2 separate regions of the Homo sapiens genome follow, and region 1 is linked to region 2. The links are contacts of gene promoters, found by promoter capture Hi-C in blood cells and fetal thymus (Javierre and others, 2016). All regions are on one chromosome and are shown on one strand. Each heading gives the region's core, a stretch centred on a gene start or on the middle of the fragment in contact. The rest is flanking DNA. Distances are from core to core; before and after follow the strand shown.

What was found. Contacts are between HindIII fragments. The CHiCAGO score rates a contact against its expected background, and 5 or more counts as called.
Region 1: a fragment that was not itself captured here is called in contact with the fragment with the promoter of TAGAP in region 2 in 1 of 17 cell types (naive B cells); the score reaches 5.3 in naive B cells.

The regions. Positions count from the first base shown.
Region 1 is chr6:158,799,623-158,807,012 of GRCh38, forward strand. The region is part of intron 2 of EZR (ezrin); the gene reads right to left. Among named protein-coding and RNA genes, the nearest start is that of EZR-AS1, 15 kb to the right of the region's middle. RefSeq lists an enhancer at 4,176-4,285. The HindIII fragment of the contact is 4,997 bases long and covers 2,362-7,358 here.
Region 2 is chr6:159,042,622-159,050,234 of GRCh38, forward strand. It overlaps TAGAP (T cell activation RhoGTPase activating protein), which reads right to left and starts at 2,370. Exons shown (of 10, transcript NM_054114.5): 1 at 2,258-2,370; 2 at 1,499-1,583; 3 at 1,357-1,410; 4 at 968-1,034. The coding sequence starts at 1,525. TAGAP-AS1 (TAGAP antisense RNA 1) reads left to right here. Exons shown (of 5, transcript NR_183546.1): 5 at 1-435. RefSeq lists an enhancer at 1-73. The HindIII fragment of the contact is 8,846 bases long and covers 2,123-7,613 here.

The sequences.
Region 1 (7,390 bases), core at 3,610-6,109, 240 kb before region 2:
AGCACTAGCTATGACAGACATTGGTCGTTTTCCACAAATGCTGGCTAACAGCCAAGCTCTGTAAAACATTACCATTGACTTAGCAAACCTCAACCAGCTTAGTGCAGAAATGCAGATACTCTAATTCGGTCAAGGCAGGCAAAGCAGAAAAGCCCGAGAGGCAAGTGAATTGTCTGTAGGTTTTTTTAAAGCTCTTCTTTCTCCCCATCACCAGCCTTTTTTGGAGTGTCACAGTAATGGCTAACATTGAAAATATAACTTTGTTTCCATGTATTATATGAAGCGAACATCTTTCTTACATGAACAATGCTGCTCCCAGTAACAGACTGTTTTATATACAAAATTATATCAATGTAATTGCAATTGAAAACCCAATGACGACTTTTTACATTATTATGGTTTCCAGCAAGCATATGGTTAGAATGCCCAAGTTTTACTCCAGAAGGGCAGTCCAGAAACCACCCTGTTATAAATAACATTCTTTCAAGGACAGAGAGGGCTGAGATGAGAACCACTATGTTGCTAAAGGTATTTATCAAAATATTCAAAACATTATTAGAGAAGTAAAATAGCAAGGTGGTCCTTAAAATATTATTTTCTATTAAATGAAGTCTCTCTATATATATCATCAATTTATGACACTGACCTGACAGTATACTTGGCAAAGACATCAACACCACTGGTCAGGGCTCTTCTCTAATTCCCGCCCATAGCAGTGGCCATGTCACCAAGGAAAGGAAGGGCTAGAAGAAATTCCAGGGACACACATTTAAGCTCCCTTTTTCCTCAGAGATCCCTGTTCTGATAAGCGTTCTCTCTCAACATCAGCCTTCTTGAGCTAAGTGTCCTTGTTGACTTTTAGGAGGTGGAAATAACAGTATAAATACATGACGCTAGGCTGGGCACGGTGGCTCATGCCTATAATCCTACCACTTTGGGAGGCTGAGGCAGGTGGATCACTTGAGACCAGCAGTTCGAGACCAGCCTGGCCAACATGGCGAAACCCCATCTCCACTAAAAATACAAAATATTAGCCGGGTGTGGTGGTGCACATTGGTAATCCCAGATACACCAGGGAATAAGGCAGGACAATCGCTTGAACCTGGGAGGTGGAGGCTGCAGTGTGCCGAGATTGCACCACTGCACTCCAGCCTGGGTGACAGAGTGAGACTGTCTCAAAAAGAAAAAAAAATTGTACTAATAAAATAATCCTGAGGCATATCTGCAAATGCAATGGATGAAGATGTAGAACACGGCTACTCCTTTCTATCAAGCTTTCTGTATCTTAAATTATACCTGATTATTTTATATGACCTCTTCTTTTAAGGTTAAAGAAGAACATGAGCGCAAAGGCAAAGAAATCTTGGCCAGGCACAGTGGCTCACTCCTGTAACCCTAGCACTTTGGAAGGCCAATGTGGGAAGATCACTTGGGCCTAGGAGGTCGAGCCTGCAGTGAGCCATGCTTGCGCCACCACACTGGGTAACAGAACCCTGTCTTTTTAATTTTTTTTGAGACAGGGTCTCGCTCTGTCAAGGCTGGAGTGCAGTGGCACAATCTCGGCTCACTGTAGCCTCCACCTCCCGGGTTCAAGCGATTCTCCTGCCTCAGTCTCCAGAGTATCTGGGATTACAGGCGTGCATCACCATGCCCAGCTAACTTTTGTATTTTTGGTAGAGACGGGGTTTCACCATGTTGCCAGCCAGGCTGGTCTTGAACTAGGCAGGGTGCTGGGATTACAGGCATGAGAACCCTGTCTCCAAAAACAAACAAAAAAAATCTGCTTGTCTATCGGGCTCAGGAAAATGTTCAGATGCCAAAGGCCAGCCATCTATCTAAGCTCCACAAATCTTGTAAAAAGTGCACAGAATTGTAACAAAAATTGTCACATAATTCAGTAACATTTCAGTGCGCCATTTTATCTGCAGCACAATAACAAAAACATGGGTACGCTAGTTATAAAACTCATTCTGATAAGTTTTCATATAATTATATAACACCAGGATATGTACTAGTCTTTTACTGCCTGAGTAATAGGAATAATAAAATCATCCAGTGTTGGAACTCACAAGAGTCCACTTGTCACAACCCTGATAACCACTATAACCAGCACTCCCCACAGGGGTCAAAGTGCTAGCTCCTCATCCTCAGTTATTCCTCTAGCTTTCCTAGGAATCATGGACAGTCATACTATTCCCAGGAACATGACGCACAAAAGTCACTGGCCAGGTGGCAGAGTTCCGAGTACAGACCAGTGTTAGCTGCTGTGGGACGTCCTGGGGCCCATGATGGAGCTGCAGACACTGTGCGTTGCGACAGCTGTTGTTCCCCATCAGGAAGCTAAACCAGCAGGACAATTCAAGCTTGGCCACACATGGATTGATAATGACAGTTAATGGAATGACTTAGTTGCCTGTAGGCAGTGTCTGTCTACCAAAAAACGTAACCCACCACAACGTAGTGCCCTTTAGATTGAAACAATCTGGCCTCCCCACCCATTCCTTCTTGCCAGGTGTAAAGGGCATTCATTGGTTAGTACCTGCCCAGGTGCTAATTACTAATGAAAGCAAGGTCATAACTACAGACTTCAGCATCTAAGGAGCCAACTTAACTCTATGGAAAACCAAGTAGCTGTAGCTAGAGTTTCTCAGTTCAGTCCTTATTTTAGGAAATGGGAGTACAACTTTTAACCTGAATAAAAAGGCTTTCGGTACAGTCACTGTTTCAAATTTTAACTGCCAGCAAGTCTGGCAGAAAGGAAAATTTACCAAATATCAATTTTTATGATTTTTTGATGCGTTGTTTATACTCATTCACATCTAAATATTTACAAACACCTTATAGTTTAGTTCTTCTGGAATATTTGTATACTTCTACTTGACTATGGCTAGTTAGGTTTTTGGTGGTAGTGTTTTGTTTGTTTTTTGAGGCGGAGTTTCACTCTTGTTGCCCAGGCTGGAGTGCAGTGGCGCAATCTCGGCTCACTGCAACCTCCACCTCCCGGGTTCAAGCGATTCTCCTGCCTCAGCCTCCCGAGTAGCCGGGATTATAGGCATGTGCCACCACGCCCAGCTAATTTTTGTATTTTTAGTAGAAACGGGGTTTCACCATGTTAAGTTAGATGGTCTCGATCTCCTGACCTCGTAATCCACCCGCCTTGGCCTCCCAAAGTGCTGGGATTACAGGTGTGAGCCACCGCGCCCGGCCAGGTTTTTGCTTATTTAAGCACAAGAACCATACATGGTTTATCCCTCGAATACAGCATCCAGCCCATGTCCAGTATCCTAGGGGCCGTGTCTCCTACCCTGCGATTCTCCTGACACCACAGGGAAGCAGGAACTCATTTCCCAGAGAAGCCAGAAGCACTTTAAGGAACTTTTTGAGTAATTTAAATGATGAAAAGTAACACTACATGCCACTCACACCTCCTTTTCTAAACTGTTCTCCTTACTACTTCCTCCAGCACCACCATTAGGCTAAACTTAAAATGTCAAGGCTAAATTCTTAATGTGCAGCAGACGTTAACAGGGCAGAGTATTGACACAGAAGTGGGGGCTGGGAATTTCCTAGTAACTGACTTTTCACGTATCTACATGATGTTACATTTTTATGTTATATAAACGTATGTTTTAAGTAGCCAATCAGAATAGTGATGAAGTATAACTGGTAGAGTGACTCCAAATGAGTACTCGATACGAGGTATACGGTTATCCTCGTCTGATGACCTTTTTTTAATGGTTACAAAAACTGAGACCCTCAACTTCTGGTAATCAGCTACCAAAATATCTGTGTAGCTCTGGCTCTTTAACATTACTCCTAAAATAGTATCTTTAAATAGATGCCAATGGTTTTATGCTTTTGAAAAGTTTGTATTTACCAACTCCAGGGTAAATATTATGTAACATTATATATATATATATATGTATATATATATATATATATATATATATATATATATACATATATATATATATATATATATACATATATATATATATATATACATATACATACATATATATATATATATACATATATATATATAAAATATACAGAGAGAGTCCAGAATAATAGCCACCCCATAATTTCAAGAACATGTAATGAAATCTCAAATCCTAAATAGCTCTCCTTTTTCCTCTGAGAGTAAGCCACTTCCTGCCCCTAGACCCACATCCTGTCAGACCAAGGCTGCTTAACAAACACAAAAAGCGGACAAACCAGTCCCATCTGTGCTCATTATTATCAGCAAGAAAATCATGACCTTAGAACTAGAAGGGAACTTTCTGGGCATTCACATTCAAAAGAGGGTCATTTTAAAACCAGGTTGGGAAGAGTTCTGTGCTAAGCCCTCCCTACTGTCCACTGCATCTGGGAGGCAGAAAGGAGCTGCTTTCCATAGGTCTGACAATGAAATGACTGCTAGTCATGCCCGAGTTCCAAGCCTGCACTGCCGAGTAACACTGATGGCCATTTCCGACCTGCTGATGGCGTATGAAAATAATGCTCCTGATACCTATTAGCTGCTAGTTTTTAAGGCCCTTTTTGGTGAGTGTCTCTAATTAAGAACCAACTTCTTCTACACTGGAAATAACATACATTGTGTGTTATCTAACAGGGAAGTAAACTGGAATTCTTAGACACCACTTTCCCCTAAGAAAGGGAAAAGAAATAATCAAAGGATGTTACATTCAGCAAAAGAAACTATTCTTTCTAGAAACACAATCTACATCCTTCTCATCTCCTTACCTCAGGGCAGGCAAAATAAAGAGAAAGGGACCTTGAACAAGAATTTATCTAATAAACTCCTGAAGTCTAAGTCTTGATTGTATACCATGTGATTTCAGTTTCACTAGGTATATCATAAATACTTCATCACCAACATGCTTCACTGAAATGTGCAGGTAATTATACACAGAAACTTAAGTTTAGTAACTACTTAGTAAACTTAGTAACTACACACATAAACAAAAGTAAGGGACAAGGCCAAGATGGCTTATTATATGCTAGAGTCGGTTTTAATTGTAGGCTCAGAAAAGATAGGGAACTAAAGGCCTATAGATTAAACATCACTATTCACCTGGAATGCATGGTTGTCTCTGCAAATTTAGAAGCCTGTGAAGAGTTTTTCCTTTCTTTTTTTCTTATTTTTTTTTATTATACTTTAAGTTTTAGGGTACATGTGCACATTGTGCAGGTTAGTTACATATGTATACATGTGCCATGCTGGTGCGCTGCACCCACTAACTCGTCATCTAGCATTAGGTATATCTCCCGATGCTATCCCTCCCCCCTCCCCCCACCCCACAACAGTCCCCAGAGTGTGATATTCCCCTTCCTGTGTCCATGTGATCTCATTGTTCAATTCCCACCTATGAGTGAGAATATGCGGTGTTTGGTTTTTTGTTCTTGCGATAGTTTACTGAGAATGATGATTTCCAATTTCTGATCTTGGGAGTGAGAAGGTGAGTCTAGGAAACAATGAGGCTGAGGTGGGTGGATCACGAGGTCAGGCGACCAAGACCATCCTGGCCAACATGGTGAAACCATCTCTACTAAAAATACAAAAATTAGCCGGGCATGGTGGCGTGTGCCTGCAATCCCAGCTACTCGTGGGGCTGAGGCAGGAGAATCGCTTGAACCAGGGAGTCGGAGGCTGCAGTGAGCCTACATGGCGCCACTGCACTCCCAGCCTGGTGACAGAGACTCCATCTCAGGAAAAAAAAAAAAAAAAAAAAAAAAAGGTCGAAAAATTTCTTTGCTAACCTGTTTTTTAGAGGACATAAGACATAAACCATACTTAAGTCTTGTGCCATTGCTGAGATAAATTTTTGCCCCTAGTTAAGATCACATGAGCAATATTATACAATGTTAAAGAACATTTCTCCTGTAAGAAACTTCGATTAGACAAGATTTGAACTCACCCCAGTCTTTACTTTTGCCATGTGTCAAAAATTAGCAAGACCAAAGTAGCTTCTTTTAAAAAATCCAAACTAAATCAGTAATCTTACAAAATTTGCTTAAATAAGCAAACCCTGCCAAAACTTTTAAAATCACCATTTCTGAAATTATACTAAATTAAAATTAAAAAAACTCTTCAATTTATACTGTCAGTATCAAGTATGTTACATCTGAAATGGCATTATAATTTGTACATCATTACTTGACTGGAAAAGACATGGTGTACATTTTACAACCCTATCACTCACCCCAACCCCAACCCATGGTTTGCTGTATTTCCTTCCCCCATCCCTGCCCACAGCCCCAGTATGTAGATTGATCTCTTAAAATGGCTAAAGCCCTACCCAGTAGATGCCCCTTATTTTGTTCATTTCAATTTTCAAGTCTGAGAAAATCGCTATTAAGACAATGACCTGTTCCCAGTTGGGTCACAGCACTGTGCCCCATTCCTATGGGCCCCCCAAAACATTGGGAATACAAAGTAATAGTGGAAAAAACTGGGAACAAATCGTTCTATGTGTTTCCAAGTCAGCTGCAATTTTGAGTAGTGACCTCCTTTTAAAACATGTGCATGGAGGGTGAGATGGCCCGGGTGGGGCCATTTGATGAGATCAAATCAGTTACTCATTTGATCCAGAGCACAAAGGTTGCCCCAGCAGCAGGGAATGGGGGACCTGCCCTCGCCCTGAGATCCTCCCACCTCAACACTCAGGCACTTCATGACGAGCAAAAGTAAAGCATCTCTCCCTTTCTACCCTATAACATGCTTTTTAAAAGCAAATATTCTATTATGGAAAGTTGAAAACATTCATAAAAGTAGAGAGAATAAGTAGTACCATGATCCTCCACACTCTCTTTTCAGCTTCAACACCATTCTTTCTTCTACTCTACCACTTTCACTTTTTTTTTTTTTTGCTGGCATATTTTAAGGCCCTCATTCATTATTTCACTTGTAAAAACTTCAGTATATTGCTCTAAAGCACTAAAAAAAAAAATCACAATACCATTATCACATCCAACATAATTTAAAACAATTCCTTAATACGTCAAGTTCAGTAAATATTATTCAATTTTCCTCCATTTCTTTGAAAATGTCTTTTTGCAGTTGATTTGTTCAAGTTATATAATGCACCTTGTTATCACACTATTTCCACATTGCCTTGTTCAGCCACGTTCTAAATAAAAAATCCAGTTTTCTCACCATTATCTGTCTAAATCCATTTAAGAGTCTCACCCAAACAGCAATGGATTATGTAAGCAAATACTTCAACATCCCAGCAGCCAACACCCTTAATTATTTAACTGAGGCAATGAAACACACCTTAATGAAAATACTGTACCAATATACACTACATATATGTTTACAAATAAAGTGATTCCAATCTCATATTTATGTGCTAAGCTTTAACCAAGTGACCTGTGGTTCAATTTT
Region 2 (7,613 bases), core at 1,120-3,619:
AAATAGATTATTTTGATTTCCTCCTTTAACTGGCGAAGAAAACGAAACTTAAAAGGTGAGGAAGTGACTTGCTGAATATCTTTTCGAAGGCACATAGCAGGGCTGGCTCCAACCCTTTGCAGCCACGCAGGCACTAAACAGCCACTAGAGGGAGCTAACACCATTTTTCCTTCCAGGTGACTGGTCACCTTGGGTTTTCCAGGTTGCTGCTTTAGGACAGAGGCAAATACGAATCGCTGCGGGAAGCCTTGAACCTAGATCTGGCAACTGGGAATTATCAGCAAAACGTTATCAAGATATTCTGTCCTTCTGAAATCCACAAGATGTGTGTGCAATGGATATTGCAATCTCAAACATTTCCTTCTTTCTTTTCTTTTCCTTCCTTCCTTCCTTCTCCTTTCTTACTAATTATAAAGGCTATATTTTCTAAATGCATTGGCATCTGTTTCTATACATTTCAGATTGGCAAGTGGAAGCATGATGAGAAAGAAGTGGCCTGTCTTTATGGTTCAGGAGAACTGGGTCAGGGTTACGCTATAATGAAATGCATTATGAAAAAAGTTGAGAGTGAATGGTGGGTCCTTTGGGATTTGAGATCAGCAACAGTTGCTTCATAGGCTCTTGGATGCATTCTCCATAAGAGAAGGAAGAAAATGGAAAAGACACTGTGTGTTTTTCAAATGTGTGCATGCTAATTGTCGAAACATACATGGCCAGGAGATTGAACCGCATTAAAAACGCTTGGCAGAACTGGGGATTCTCTATGGAGAGGCTCTTTCCTTTCCCAGCACTCCCTGCTCTAGTGAGTTGGAGCATACCTGCCATTTAAGGGTTAATGTTCTGCGGTCTTTAACAGAACAACTTATACAAAAAAATTCCTAGTAGAGTAAAAGCGCTGTGGTTTTGCAAACCAAGAGCACTGGTTGTTAGCACTTACATAAAAGATCGGTATGTTTTTAAAACTCACCAATGAGCTGGCAAATACTGTCTTCACTCTCACATGATGCCAACAGGGGATGTTCCTTGATATCACCCTAAAAACATTTTTATTTCAGTTAAATATAGTGACTGAAGAAACCTATCGAGTCTTTCCCCACAAAACACACATACAGCATTTTATTCATATTAAAAATGAAGTCAGTAGAGTGCATTGATGTTTTTTCTAGCTTCTAGAAGCAATATTAAGGTCTTGATTGTCATCATATAAGATCCTAATTAATGTGCTTAATTTACTACATGTGTGATGTTAGTTTACTACTCTTATAATTACTATTCAACCCAAATAATATTCAATTAAAACAAAGTTTTCCACCTTCTCACAGTACAGATAAAAAGTCTTAAAAATTGCTTTCTTACCTCTGATTGACATTCGATTAGTGTCTCCATATTATTGGCGTTTAGTGTTTTTGACTAAAAGAGAAAAAATAAAATTAGGTAAATATCTTTTGGCCCTTGCCTGTAGGAAACGTGAATGAATGAATGTGAGAGGGGCACTCACAGCATTGTGGCTGCTTCTCAGCTTCATCAGTATTGCGGCTGACTGTCCAGGGGTGGATTTCACTCCCGTGTGGCTGTGCCTCTGTCTACAACGAATCACATGGAAAGGAGTTAGGAGGGACTCACACAGTAGGCCACTTTCAGCGCCACTTTGCCAAAGCACAGAGTTTGAAACTATTTATTTATTTTTCTCTTTTGCTATTTTTTCACTTGCCTTTACTTTGGAAAAAACTATTACATAGACAAGTTTTCATTTAAAATCAGTTCTGTTACCAGATGTTGTATGTTGTTAAGAGCAGCATCTGAACACAATTATTTCTAAATTATTTAAGTCAACTATCTTTACCACTCTAAACGTTGTTACCAATTTATTCCGTTCCATCAAGAGATAATCTGGATATCAATTACGTTAACATTTTAAATTAACATGAACATTAACTTTTTTGGTGGAGTGCTGACTATATGCCAGCTGTCGTAGTAGGTGCTTTGCATGGATTTTCTCATCTAATCCAAAAAGGAAAAAAAAAAAAACATATCCCTAGGATGCTAAAATAGTAAACATGAAACAAAGATAACATTTACAGAACTCCTACACCAAAAAGGTGCAGCCTTCACGTTGAAGCAAAGCTTTGTCCTGAGACTTTATAAAGTGAGAGCATATTCCACGGGATAGCTGTTTTCTGTTGCCTGTGATCTGAGTGACCTGTGACTTGCGAGGCAGCTTGTAATTTCTAGGCATGTTAATATATAGTGTACTTACCCTTGGAGGGTCTCTAGCCAGAGTTCTTTTACATCCGGTGAGCTGTAAAGAATGGGAGAAACAGCATAACTCTCTGCTCCTTCTAGTCCACTGGGAGAGAGAGAGACCGAGCCGGTCTCCCTTCACATGCTCTGCATTATAAGCGAAGGGGCGGGCAGGTGGAAATTCAGAATATTACAGAGACCGGAAAGAACATCATGGGCTGTCACACGGACGGAGCCAGCCAGACACTGGAGAGCTCTCGCTTCCTCATTCCTTTTAGGGCAGCTATGTCTTTTTTTTTTTTTTTTTTTTTTTTTTTTTTTGTGTCTTCCACTTCAAAGTAAAAAATCTGTAAACTACTAGGAGTGGAAAACATGACATTCAGCCCATAGGTGAAGGCTCTGATTAATGTCATAGGTGGGATGTGTGAACAAGAAATTGTGTTATTCTGTGCATAAACATCACTTTATTTTCTAAAGTGGTAATTTCAAGTGCCTCTTTTTGCATCCTGTTTGGGTGCTCTTTCCCCTCCCACGTGCCATCTGCTCTGTCCACCAGCACCACACGTTGATTAGCACCCCTGGATGTGGGACACTGTTACAGAACCAGAAAGAAACCCAAGACAGTCCCTTCCTTGAGGAACAATCACCGTCCAAAGCCAGGTTAGTTTCCTTTGGAAGTAGAAAGAAAACTCCCTCGAGTCAGTTGTCAATATAGTAACCCCCTCCTCCTTTCTGTAACTCCTGGTCAAAAGTATTGATACTTAATTTACAGTCAGAGCAGCTGTCGTTCTGACACGGAAGGAAAACAAACAAAAAAATTCCTTTGATCAGACCAACTTAAAGTAGGAAAGAGATGGTGAATTTCATTTGTGGATCACTCTTCTGCATAAGAGAATTTCTGATCTTTTCTGTAGATCAAGGGCTATATATGAAACCACTCAAATGCCTCGACACGAGAATGGATGCATAAATTGTGATCCATTCACATAGGGAATGAATGTTGTATAGCACTGATAATGAACAGCCTATGACTATAGCCAACAATATGGTTGGATCTCATAATATGACGCTGAGCAAAAGAAGCCAGACGTGAAAGTGTATATCCTGCCGGCTCCCATTAATGCAAAGCACAAAATTAGCAAAAGTCGTCTGTGCTGTTGGAAGCAAGAGTAGCAGTTTCCCAGAGGGGATGGTAATGACTTCCAGGGGCCAGCGGGGGGCTTGGTGATGGTCCATTCTTGATCTGGGTGGTGCTAGGCTTATGTGCACACTTCCCTATTTATGTAATTTTTCAATAAAAAGTTTTAAAATAACTTGGCTTCATTTATCATCAGCATCTTTAATTTTAAGACTTTTCCGCATTGTCAGTTCTTTTGTCATTTTACTGAAAGGAGGTGATTATGGGGCAGACTTTGGGAAACCGAAGCACAGAGAGGTCGAAATTTGCTCTGTAACTTAGCGGCTCGGTGGGGACCTAGGGACAGATCCTGGTTTTCAGGCTTCCAGCTGGGGGCTCCCTCTCTGAAAGCCACCACAGTGCCAGAGTTCACCCAGTGTTCCCAGGGCAGCTGTAGAGGCCACCACTCTTTCAGCATCCCTCTCCTGCCTTTATAAACCTCCAAAGTGAACTCACTGATTTTTTTAATTGAAAAAGGGCATTTACGCTGTGCCCAGCCTAGTGCTAGGCATATAGTAGGTACTAAATAACTAATTTCTGAATATATACATTTCCTTATAAAATAGCCAAAATAGAATATTACTATAATGTTCTATATATCATAGAATATATATGTGATGTATATTCATTGCTAGTATGTATTTTCTAAACTTTTTTTTTTCCCGACAAACGGACTTTTCAAATTTTTGTAAGAAACTTAATGTACTTACTGTTCTTTCTTTTTTTTTTTTTTTGAGATGGAGTTTCGCTCTTGTCACCCAGGCTGGAGTGCAATGGCGTGATCTCGGCTCACTGCAACCTCTGCCTCCTGGGTTCAAGTGATTCTCCTGTCTCAACCTCCTGAGTAGTTGGAATTACAGGCACGCGCCACCATACCTGGCTAATTTTTGTATTTTTAGTAGAGATGGGGTTTCGCCATGTTGGCCAGGCTGGTCTGGAAATCCTGACCTCAGGTGATCCACCCATCTTGGCCTCCCAAAGTGCTGGGATTACAGATGTGAGCCACTGTGCCCAGCCTCAGCATCTTTTAAAAATACATAACATGAATGGTTTGATGACCTGCAGAAATGGTTACATCGACGGACTTTTCTTTTTCTTCTGGGACCTACCATGCCTAGTTAAGCACCCAGGGAACTATCTAGGATGAAAAGTTAGTAGCAAATACGGCAACAGAATTAGGGCCCCTCCATTTTTTGAAACAGAAATATGTTTTGGCTCTTCTTATTGACACAACTGATGGTGGGAAAGCCCAGAGGGAGGTGCCATCCTTTGGGGTCCCTGGGAGATTTTGACAGTCAACATCTAATGAATAGGTACATTTTGTGACTGAAGGAAAGCCACCATTGTTGGCTGGTGCTGCTGGGGGACTGAGGAGACGTTCTCCTTTATGACTGTGGCCCCGCCTGCATATGGCGCCTACTGTGGAAAGAGAAAGAGTTGTGAAGGGCAGGTGCTGCACCCTCAACTCTGAAAATCTCACAGTAATTTTGATCGCAGTTTTCCGAGCACTAGGAGAAACATTTATAAATAAAGTGTAAAATTTGGAAGCAGTCATGCCAAAAGTTAGAAAAAAAGATGGAAATGTCAGATTCACTTTTTCCATATTCTTGTCTCCCACACATCTCTTTGAAAAGCAAGCTCTCATCGTCCTGCATAGTAAGAGTCTTCAGAACGTGGAAAGGAACTTCAGTGGCTTTTGCTGGGTTGGGCTGAAGGAAACCCCGGTGAAACCCACACCTGTAAAGATGCTTCTCACAGTGGGACTTTTATCGCTTGGGTCCTGGTCACAATCAATTTTTCTGCAAATAATTGGCTTTGCTTTTCTTGTGGTGAGTCTCTAAGGACAGTGAGTTCCGTTCTGGGGACTGTGAGTTCTATGCTGTGTACATGTGTGCTTTGGAGGGTGACTGGAAGCACCATCGTTCCTTCCCATACTTTCAGGCTCAGTTACCGCTTCAGTCTGGACTGTTGTGAACGAGAATATGGAAGTCATTTTCCCCACATTGTTTACCCAGCTTGCCTGGGAAACACCAACTGGAGGATTAGAGTCCGGCTCTTCAGTTTGAACTCACTTTCCCTTTCTCTTCCTGGGACCACCCAGTGATTCAGAGCCCTGCATTCTGTAATGAGATTAATGTCAACAGTTTCCTGCATTGAAGATTATTTTCCCAAAGAGTTCACGATTTCCTTCAGGACTTCTCCATCACCCCAGTGTCTGGCTACCTAATGACTGATTAACAGGTTGATTTTCTAGAAAACTCAAATTACAATTTCTTTTTTTTAAAAAAGGGCAATCCAGCCTTTTCTCTGATTATCCGTCCTCCCCATCTCCCACTTGTCCTATGTTTTAGCCACACAGGCTGTTGTCATCCCCTAAAAGTGTGCTTCTGAGTCTCCAGGCCTTTGATAAATTGTTCCCTCCTCCTGAAATGCCATTCACGCCATCTGCCTTTTGGAATTCTGCCCTTCCCTCGGAATCTAGCCCAAGTCCTATCTCCTCTAAGAAGGGACTTTTCTAGATTGAATTAAATTTCCTTCCCTGGCCCTGCATAGTGGCCGCACCCAGTAGACTGTGAGTCTACTTTTTTCATCTTTTATTCTTACAAGTGCCTGGCCTCATATTTTGCACACAGTAGGCATTTGCTATACTTTAATTACTAGTAAAATTGAGTGATAAAATAAAACATTTAAATCTCACCATACGTTTGCTGGTATTGCAATTTGTTACTCAGACTTTTTGTCACTTAGCCTTTGACTGTTTCGTTTCATGGAGAAAGACTACCTCTTTGTCACGCTGTAACAGAGACCATCGTTGCAGAATTTGATTGAGCTGGAGACAGCCTCTCCTTGCACACACCGCGGGCTTATGTCGATACCAATGTTGTGGGATTAGACACATGGACTCTCTAGCTCTGTGGTGAGGAAGGAGGCCTCGCCTTAGGTGGACTTGAGTGTCAGCTTCTGTCAGTGAATCTGTCAGGAGGGCGTGACCACACCTGTCCAGCCTCTCACCTCCCACCCTCCAAGGACCAAAGCCTTACCAGTGTTCTCACCTTAGACTCCCTAGTTCTGTGTGCTCTGGGAGGTGTGGACGTCCCCAGAGCCATGCTCCTCACTGTCTGGTGGCAGAGGAGGACTTAGCATAAAGGACTCCGGGGGCTGGGAAGTTGGTGCTCACTTTGAATGACGGTCTTGGATTCACTAATCTGCAAAGTACCCAACCTGCAGAATCTTTTATGCGGTGACTTTGGTTATAGCGAATTAGCAATAAAACTCCTTGCCTGCCTCTCCTCTAAGAAACTTCTAGGAAAGTCTGTGGGTGGGGAAGATATGCCTGGAAGAGACGTTCTCACCTCTCTGCAGGCCCCGGGCTCACAGATACAGGCAAGGACTCAGTCTCGGCTACGGTAAATACAGTTCAGTCCTTTAAGGTCATTTTTTAATTTTTGTTTTTTTTCCTGGCAGGAGAAGGGCTGCCTTCCAGGGAACTTCTCAGAGGTTTGCTGGGACCCTGGCATCCCTGAAATAATGTCAAGCATCATTTCATCTTGCAAAATAATTTGCTGTCTCCACAAATGGCTGCATTTCTGCAGTAGTGGAAGCAGACATTTCAAATTTGCCCCCTCAGATATTTGCAATTATGAATTTATCTTTGTGTTGGAATACAAAATAGGCTCAGCATAAAATAATATTTGAAGAACGCTGTGTTTTCAAAAGCTGGCTTGAAAACTAAGAAAGGCTCAAACAAAATGTTCTTTTTAAACTGGCTTCTCCACTTATTGTGATCAAGATGAAGAATTAAAAATAAGACATCCTGAGATTAGGTGATTAGAAGCTGTATGGCTGATGACACAAACTGCTATGGGACCCAGGCAGGGCCTCAGCTTAGCCGCGCTTATCACTGCTATGGGACCCAGGCAGGGCCTCACCTTAGCTGCGTTATCACTGCTATGGGACCCAGGCAGGGCTTCATCTTAGCTACATTATCAGTGCTGTAGGACCCAGGTAGGGCTTCAGCTTAGCTGTGTTTATCACTTTAAGAACTAAAGAATGTGGCTGGGCGCGGTGGCTCACGCCTGTAATCCCAGCACTTTGGGAGGCCGAGGTGGGCAGATCACGAGGTCTGGAGTTCAAGACCATTCTGGCCAACATGGTGAAACACTGTCCCTACTAAAAATACAAAAAATGATCTGGG